2 separate regions of the Homo sapiens genome follow, and region 1 is linked to region 2. The links are contacts of gene promoters, found by promoter capture Hi-C in blood cells and fetal thymus (Javierre and others, 2016). All regions are on one chromosome and are shown on one strand. Each heading gives the region's core, a stretch centred on a gene start or on the middle of the fragment in contact. The rest is flanking DNA. Distances are from core to core; before and after follow the strand shown. Region 1 overlaps HIP1 (huntingtin interacting protein 1). Region 2 holds the start of SRRM3 (serine/arginine repetitive matrix 3).

Region 1 (3,256 bases), core at 298-2,797, 510 kb before region 2:
AACTCCTGGGTTCAAGCAATTCTCCTGCCTCAGCCTCCCACGTAGCTGGGATTACAGGCACCCGCCACCACGCCCGGCTAATTTTTGTATTTTTAGTAGAGACGGGTTTTTCCCATGTTGGCCAGGCTGGTTTTGAACTCCTGACCTCAGGTGATCTGCCCACCTCGGCCTCCCAAAGTGCTGGGATTACAGGCATGAGCCACTGCGCCCGGCCTGTCAGTTTTCTCTACCACAAATAGCTTATTCTGCCTGTGGCCTTTTTTTGTTGTTGTTGTTCTGTTTTGAGACGGAGTCTCTGTCGCCTAGGCTGGAGTACAGTGGCGTGATCTTGGCTCACTACAACCTCCACTTCTCAGGCTCAAGCAATTCTTGTGCCTCAGCCTCCCTAGTAGCTGGGATTACGGGTGTGTGCCACCACACCTGGCTAATTTTTGTATTTTTAGTAGAGAGAGTGTTTTTTGGCCAGGCTGGTCTTGAACTCCTGGCCTCAAGTAATCCACCTGCCTCGGCCTCCCAAAGTACCGGGATTACAGGCGTGAGCCACTGCACCCGGCCCCAGCCTGTGGCCTTTTTATGTACAATGGCATCTTTTATTGACAAGGTTGTCAATTTTATCAACATCTTCCTTTATTTATATGCTTTTGGTGTCTTAAGAATTTTTTTCCCTATTGAAACTAAGATCATAAAGATATTCTCTCGTATTTTTTTTGAAAAGTTTAAAAGCTTTGGTTTTCGCAGTTAGGCCTTTAATACACTCGGAATTTATTTGTAGTTAAGGCATAAAGTAATATTCTAATTTTATTTCTCCCTGTGCAGAACCAGTTGCTCTAGCGTCATGTATTGAAGAATTCCTCTTAGCTGGGGTTCCCATGGAAGCAGACTCTGAGACAAGGATGTCAGCGCAGGGAGCTTATTTGGTATTTGGGAAGGGCCCTGGAAAATGCTGGAAGGAGATAAGGAAGGAGAGAGAGGGATTTTCTTATCAACTGATGACCATTTATTTTCCTTCTCTTTTCTCATTTTTTTTTTGTTGTTGTTTGTTTTTGAGACAGAGTTTCACTCTTTTGTCCAGGCTGGAGTGCACTGGTGCAATCCTGGCTCACTGCAGCCTTGACCTCCTGGGCTCAAGCCATCCTCCCCTCTTAGCCTCCCAAGTGGCTGGGACTACAGTGCAGGTGCATGCTGCTACACCTGGTATTATTTTAGTTCTTTTTTTTTTTTTTTTTTTTTTTGTAGGTACAGGGTCTTGTATGTTGCCCAGGCTGGCTTCAAATTCCTGGACTCAAATGATCCTCCACCCTCAGCCTCCCAAAGTGCTGGGATTCCAGGCATGAGCCACTACTCCCAGCCTGATGAGCTTTGCTATGTGTCTAAAAGGAAATTTGTTTTCTTTATCGAGCATTTCTGGTATTTGTGGCAGCAGGATTTTCTGTTCTGGTCTCTGAAGTTCATTAAGGAGAAAAGAGAAACAAATGGACATTTGTACAGCACTTGACAGTTTACAAAACATCCCTAATGAAAGGTAGTGGAACTTGGGTCGAATCCTCGACCACTCTGAGGCTGTTACCGAAAGTCTCAGGCAGCCCCTGGCCTTCCCTCCAGGAGTCTAGAGGCACCTCCCAGAAGCAGGAGCCAATCCCTGTGGCTGGCCCCCAGTACCTTTCTCATGTCTGAACTTTTTACAATAACTTCCCAGTTTATCTCCTTGCTGGTCTCTCTTGTTGCCACCTCTTCTTTATCCTGCTGTGAATATCTATTTTTCTAAAACACATCTGGGCCGGGCACGGTGGCTCATGCCTGTAATCTCATCACTTTGGGAGGCCAAGGCGGGAGGATCACCTGAGGTCAGGAGTTCGAGACCAGCCTTGGCAACATGGCGAAACCCCATCTCTACTAAGAATACAAAATTAGCCAGGCTTGGTGGCGGGCACCTGTAATCCCAGCTACATGGGAGGCTGAGGCAGGAGTATTGCTTGAACCCAGGAGGCAGAGGTTGCAGTGAGCCGAGATGGCGCCATTGCACTCCAGCCTGGGAGACAAGAGCGGAACTCCGTCTCAAACAAAACAAAACAAAACAATCAAACAAAAAACTCATCTGGCTCTTGCCAGTCTCTCCACCTTTAAAGTCTCTTATGACCCACAAGCTGGGCCCAACCTTCCTTCCCAGCCTCCTTTCCATGGTGCCTTCCTCTCTTCCCAGCCCCTACTCCTGAACCCTCCGTGTTCCCAGAACCTGGCTGTCTCCCATGCCTCCAGGCCTTTCCATGTGATGTTTTCACTGCTGAATTTTCTCTCTGGAGCGCTGGATTTTCTCTCTTGAGTCCTGGGCTGTAAGAGTTCTTCCAGGCTAGCCCATGTGGTACCACTTTTGTAAGCTTATCCTCCCCAACTAGAAAGAGGCCTCCTGTCCCCCTGAAGGCCACTTACCATCCCCTCCACACCTCAGCCACTAAACTCAGTCTACTTGTTAGTTAGGAGTCTCTCTCCTCCACTAAACTGAGGGCAAAGACTGTGGTTCTTCCCTCATCCTGGATGCAACACAGCACCTGCCCACACCACCAACACCCCTCCGTGGGCCACAATCCGGGAGGTGGGACCGCCCTTGTGAAGCCACCAGGGGTTCCTCCCCTGGGGCAGGGCAGGAGCTTGCAGAGCTGTTGGGTGGAGGGAAAGGGAGACTCCTCACCACACACGCAGAAGTCCCTCAGCCCTACAATGAGAGCCAAGGAAGAACGGCCGGGGGCGCGCCGGGTCCGGGCTCCCAGGGGAGTCCATCATGCTGCGTCTGCAGGGGGTGGGGGGGATGAGCTGTCGGTGGAGCCCCTCGACGGGTGGGGGACGGGCAGGCAGCCAAGCGCACAAGTGCAGCCCGGCTGACAGGAAGCCGCACTAAGGGGAGATCTGCTTGGGCATCCAGGACACAAAGCCCCACCTGTCAGGCCCCCCACGCACACCCTCCACCCGCCGTCCGGGTCTGGCCCCGAGCCCACCACCAGCAGCTGCCTACTCCCTTCCTCCCTCCCTCGGTGGCCTTTGGTCCTCTCCCGGGACAGCTGCACCAAACCAGCAGGTGGGAGGTTGTTTGCACGGGCCTCCCAGCTCTGCCCCCCAACAGCCAGCTTCAAATTCCAGAGCCTCCCCAGGAACCAGCAGCAGAGAGTGGCCCCGTGGCCCCGGCGTGTCCCTGACTTGGGTGACAAGCAGAGCAGCAGTGCTTCCTACTGACCAGCTGACCGGGGCTTTCATCAAGGCCCCC
Region 2 (3,175 bases), core at 1-2,500:
TGTTGTTTTTGTTTTTTTGTTTTGTTTTTGTTTTTGAGACAAATTGAGGCTCTGTCACCTAGGATGGAGTGCAATGGAGCAATCTTGGTTCACTGCAACCTTCGCTTCTCAGGCTCAAGCCTTCCTCCCACTTCAGCCTCCCAAGTAGCTGGGACCACAGGTGCATGCATGCCACCACATCTGGCAAATTTTTGTATTTTTCATAGAGACAGGGTTTCCTCATGTTGGCCTGGCTGGTCTCAAACTCCTGAGCTCAGTGATTTCCCACCTCAGCCTCCTAAAATGTTAGGATTACAGATGTGAGCCACTGCATCCAGCCAAAATTTTAAAATTTAAAAAAATAATTTAAAATCTCCTGTCTCCATTAGGATGTCTCTCACACTACACCCTCCTTTTTTTTTTTTTAAATTTTTGAGATGGTGTCAAAAAATGACAGCCTCTGTCATTCAGGCTGGAGTGCAGTGGCGCCACCATAGGTCACTGCAGCCTCAAATTCCTGGGCTCCAGCGATCCTCCCACCTCACCTCCCTGGTGCCTTTTATTTTATTTTATTTTATTTTATTTTTGACCCTAAGTCTTGCTCTTGTCGCCCAGTCTGGAGTGCAATGGTGCGATCTTGGCTCACTGCAACTCCGCCTCCCAGATTCAAGCGATTCTCCTGCCTCAGCCTCCCAAGTAGCTGAGTAGTTGGGATTACAGGTGCCTGCGACCACGCCTGGCTAATTTTTGTATTTTTAGTAGAGACTGGGTTTCACCATGTTGGCCAGGCTGGTCTCGAATTCCTGGCCTCAAGTGATCCTCCCGCCTCAGTCTCCCAAAGTGCTGGGATTATAGGCGTGAGCCACCGCGCCCAGCCCCTGGTGCCTTCTTTAACACTGGGTGGGAAGAGAGTGTCCTGGCGAGGCCTCTGCACACCGACTGCATTTCCCAGATCCAAACTAATAACCTCCCTTGCCCCAGGCGCCTTCCAGGGCTGACATGCCTCCTCTCGCAAGTGGGGGAAACAGATGTCCCCGGGGGCTGGGGATAGGGGCGGGGGTGTGGGGAGGTGAGGGGCGAGGGGAAGGGGGGGAGGGGGGCGAAGGGGGCGGGGAGGAGGGGGAGCCGGCCGGGAGACGGCCCGGCCCAGCCGCCCGGGCTGTTGCCTCCGCTGCGGGCGTTCCTCCAGGCCTGCGGAGGGCGCTGCGGGCGCGGGGCTGGGCCGCTCTGGCTGGCGGGCGAGCAGAGAGGCGCCTCGGTGGCGGTGCGCTGTCCAGCATTTCAGCAAGCGGCGGCAGCACCCGCGGGGAGGCAGAGGGTGCGGGGCCGTGGGGGCCGCGGAGCTGCCCTGCCCAACTCAGCCCAGACTAGGCGGCAGCCCGGACCGGCGGGACCCGAGGGCCTGGCCCCAGCGCCCGGTAGATCGCGGCGGTCAGCGGTGAGGTGAGAGCGCCTGTGGGGCGGGGGCATATCCCCGAGGGGCTGGGGCTGGGTGGAAGCTCGGGCCTCCCCAGCACCCCCGTGGTCTGCAGGCTCCCCCGAGCAGAGGGGCAGTGTGGGAGGTCGGCGAGGGCGTCTGTCCGGGGGTGCCAGGCGCCCGGGGAGCAGAGATGAGGAACATTCATTTCACTGAGAGGGATGGAGACAGTGGAGACCTTTGGGGTCATGGGCAGGACTCCCCTGGGCATAAATGACCATGGCCTAGTCCATGAGGGTGCCAGGGAGGCCCCCCAACCGCAGTCCCACTGAGGAGAAGGACCTGCTCCCCAGGGAAGGGAGGACCGATGCAGTAACCCTGTGGAGATGCTGGTCACTGGCCCTGGTGAAGGGAGCAGGCCCCCACCTGGATGCTGGGCCTCTGTCCAGCAGGAGGTGCCGGCCCAGGGGACAGCCTGGCCCCTTTCCCGGCTACCCAAATGCCCCTAGGGAGGCAGGAGCTGGCAAGGAGAACTGGGTCTCACAGGATGGCATTTACTCTTGCACTGGGAAGAGGATGGAGGACACAGAAGAGAAAATAGCTACTAGGAATTTGGGAGGGGGTTCTCTGTGCACACCCCCCACCCCAACCACGGACGCCCAGAGAGAGTTTCTAGCCCAGAGTTAGACCTGCGCCAGAGTGAATTCCTGGTAAAGAAGAGAGCTGAGAAAAGACGCAGCCTCTGCCTTGCCTCCGCCTCCCCCTCCCTCCCAGGGCTCCTGCCTGGACAGTGTTGAAGCCTCCTGCAGTTCCTACTCCTGACAGCAGATCCATTGTGGGGAGAGATTTAGTGGGAGGAAGGGAAGGTTGTACCAAGGTCTGACGTGGTACTTCAATGCCTGTGCCCTATCCCAGCCATAACTTCTCGCTGTCCTAAGACCTCACTCACCCTAGCATCGGGGGCTTGAGCTGGTCTTTTGTCCCATGGCAAGAGAAAAGGCAGGTGCTGGGCTTTGACGGAGAGACGTGCACAAGTTCCTCTGTCCAGGGAGCATCTTAAGGTCATGGCCCCAGTTTGTGCCAGCTTCTTCCTCAGTCAAAAATAGGACCCAGCTGGCTAGGAAATTGTTCCCACACAGCAGTAGCTTTCTGGTTCCTTAACTTTATGCCCCATCCCACTCTCCTGTGGGGTGGAGGAGGTATTCTTGAAGACTGACTAAAGAGTCAACTGGGTTTTAAGAGGTAGGGGTATGTGGGTTGGGAGTCATGGACTCTGATGTCAGAAAGACATGGGATCAAATCTAGGTTATGTGACCTCAGGTAAGCCATTGACCTTTCTGAGTCTGTTTTCAATCTGTAAAACAGGTGTAGTGTTAGCAATGTCTACTTTGCTGTTGAAAGAAATAATCTGGATAAGGAGATGGGAGACTACTTTTACGGTATAAAATGCTGGGTGAGTGTTAGTAAATAGGAGACAAGTAAGAATTTCTTAAAGAAGAGCTGGATAAATGTGGAATAGTGTTCAGTGATATTTGAAGCACATTTTTCTGTTCCCAGAGGAGATGAACAGTGGTTGAGAGCCTCATGCCCAGCTCCATGCTGGGCACAATGCAACGGTTGACTCAGCTAATCCTCACAGAAGCTTCATGAGGAAGGCATCATTGTCCCTATTTCATAGCTGAGAAATGAAGCTTGAGTGACTTTCCCAAGGTCATGAAGCCACTCGCGCTGTCCTCCTGGAGGCAGGAGAGTTACTGATGACCTGTCCCATCCTCTGAG

Evidence for each region. The method cuts DNA at HindIII sites, captures the fragments that hold promoters and counts their contacts. A CHiCAGO score of 5 or more calls a contact.
Region 1: a fragment that was not itself captured here is called in contact with the fragment with the promoter of SRRM3 in region 2 in 4 of 17 cell types (megakaryocytes, erythroblasts, M2 macrophages and 1 more); the score reaches 7.1 in megakaryocytes.

Annotation. Positions count from the first base shown.
Region 1 is chr7:75,685,635-75,688,890 of GRCh38, forward strand. The region is part of intron 1 of HIP1 (huntingtin interacting protein 1); the gene reads right to left. Among named protein-coding and RNA genes, the nearest start is that of HIP1, 52 kb to the right of the region's middle. The HindIII fragment of the contact is 1,652 bases long and covers 722-2,373 here.
Region 2 is chr7:76,200,646-76,203,820 of GRCh38, forward strand. SRRM3 (serine/arginine repetitive matrix 3) reads left to right here and starts at 1,251. Exons shown (of 15, transcript NM_001110199.3): 1 at 1,251-1,422. RefSeq lists a silencer at 1,098-1,337. The HindIII fragment of the contact is 9,812 bases long and covers 1-3,036 here.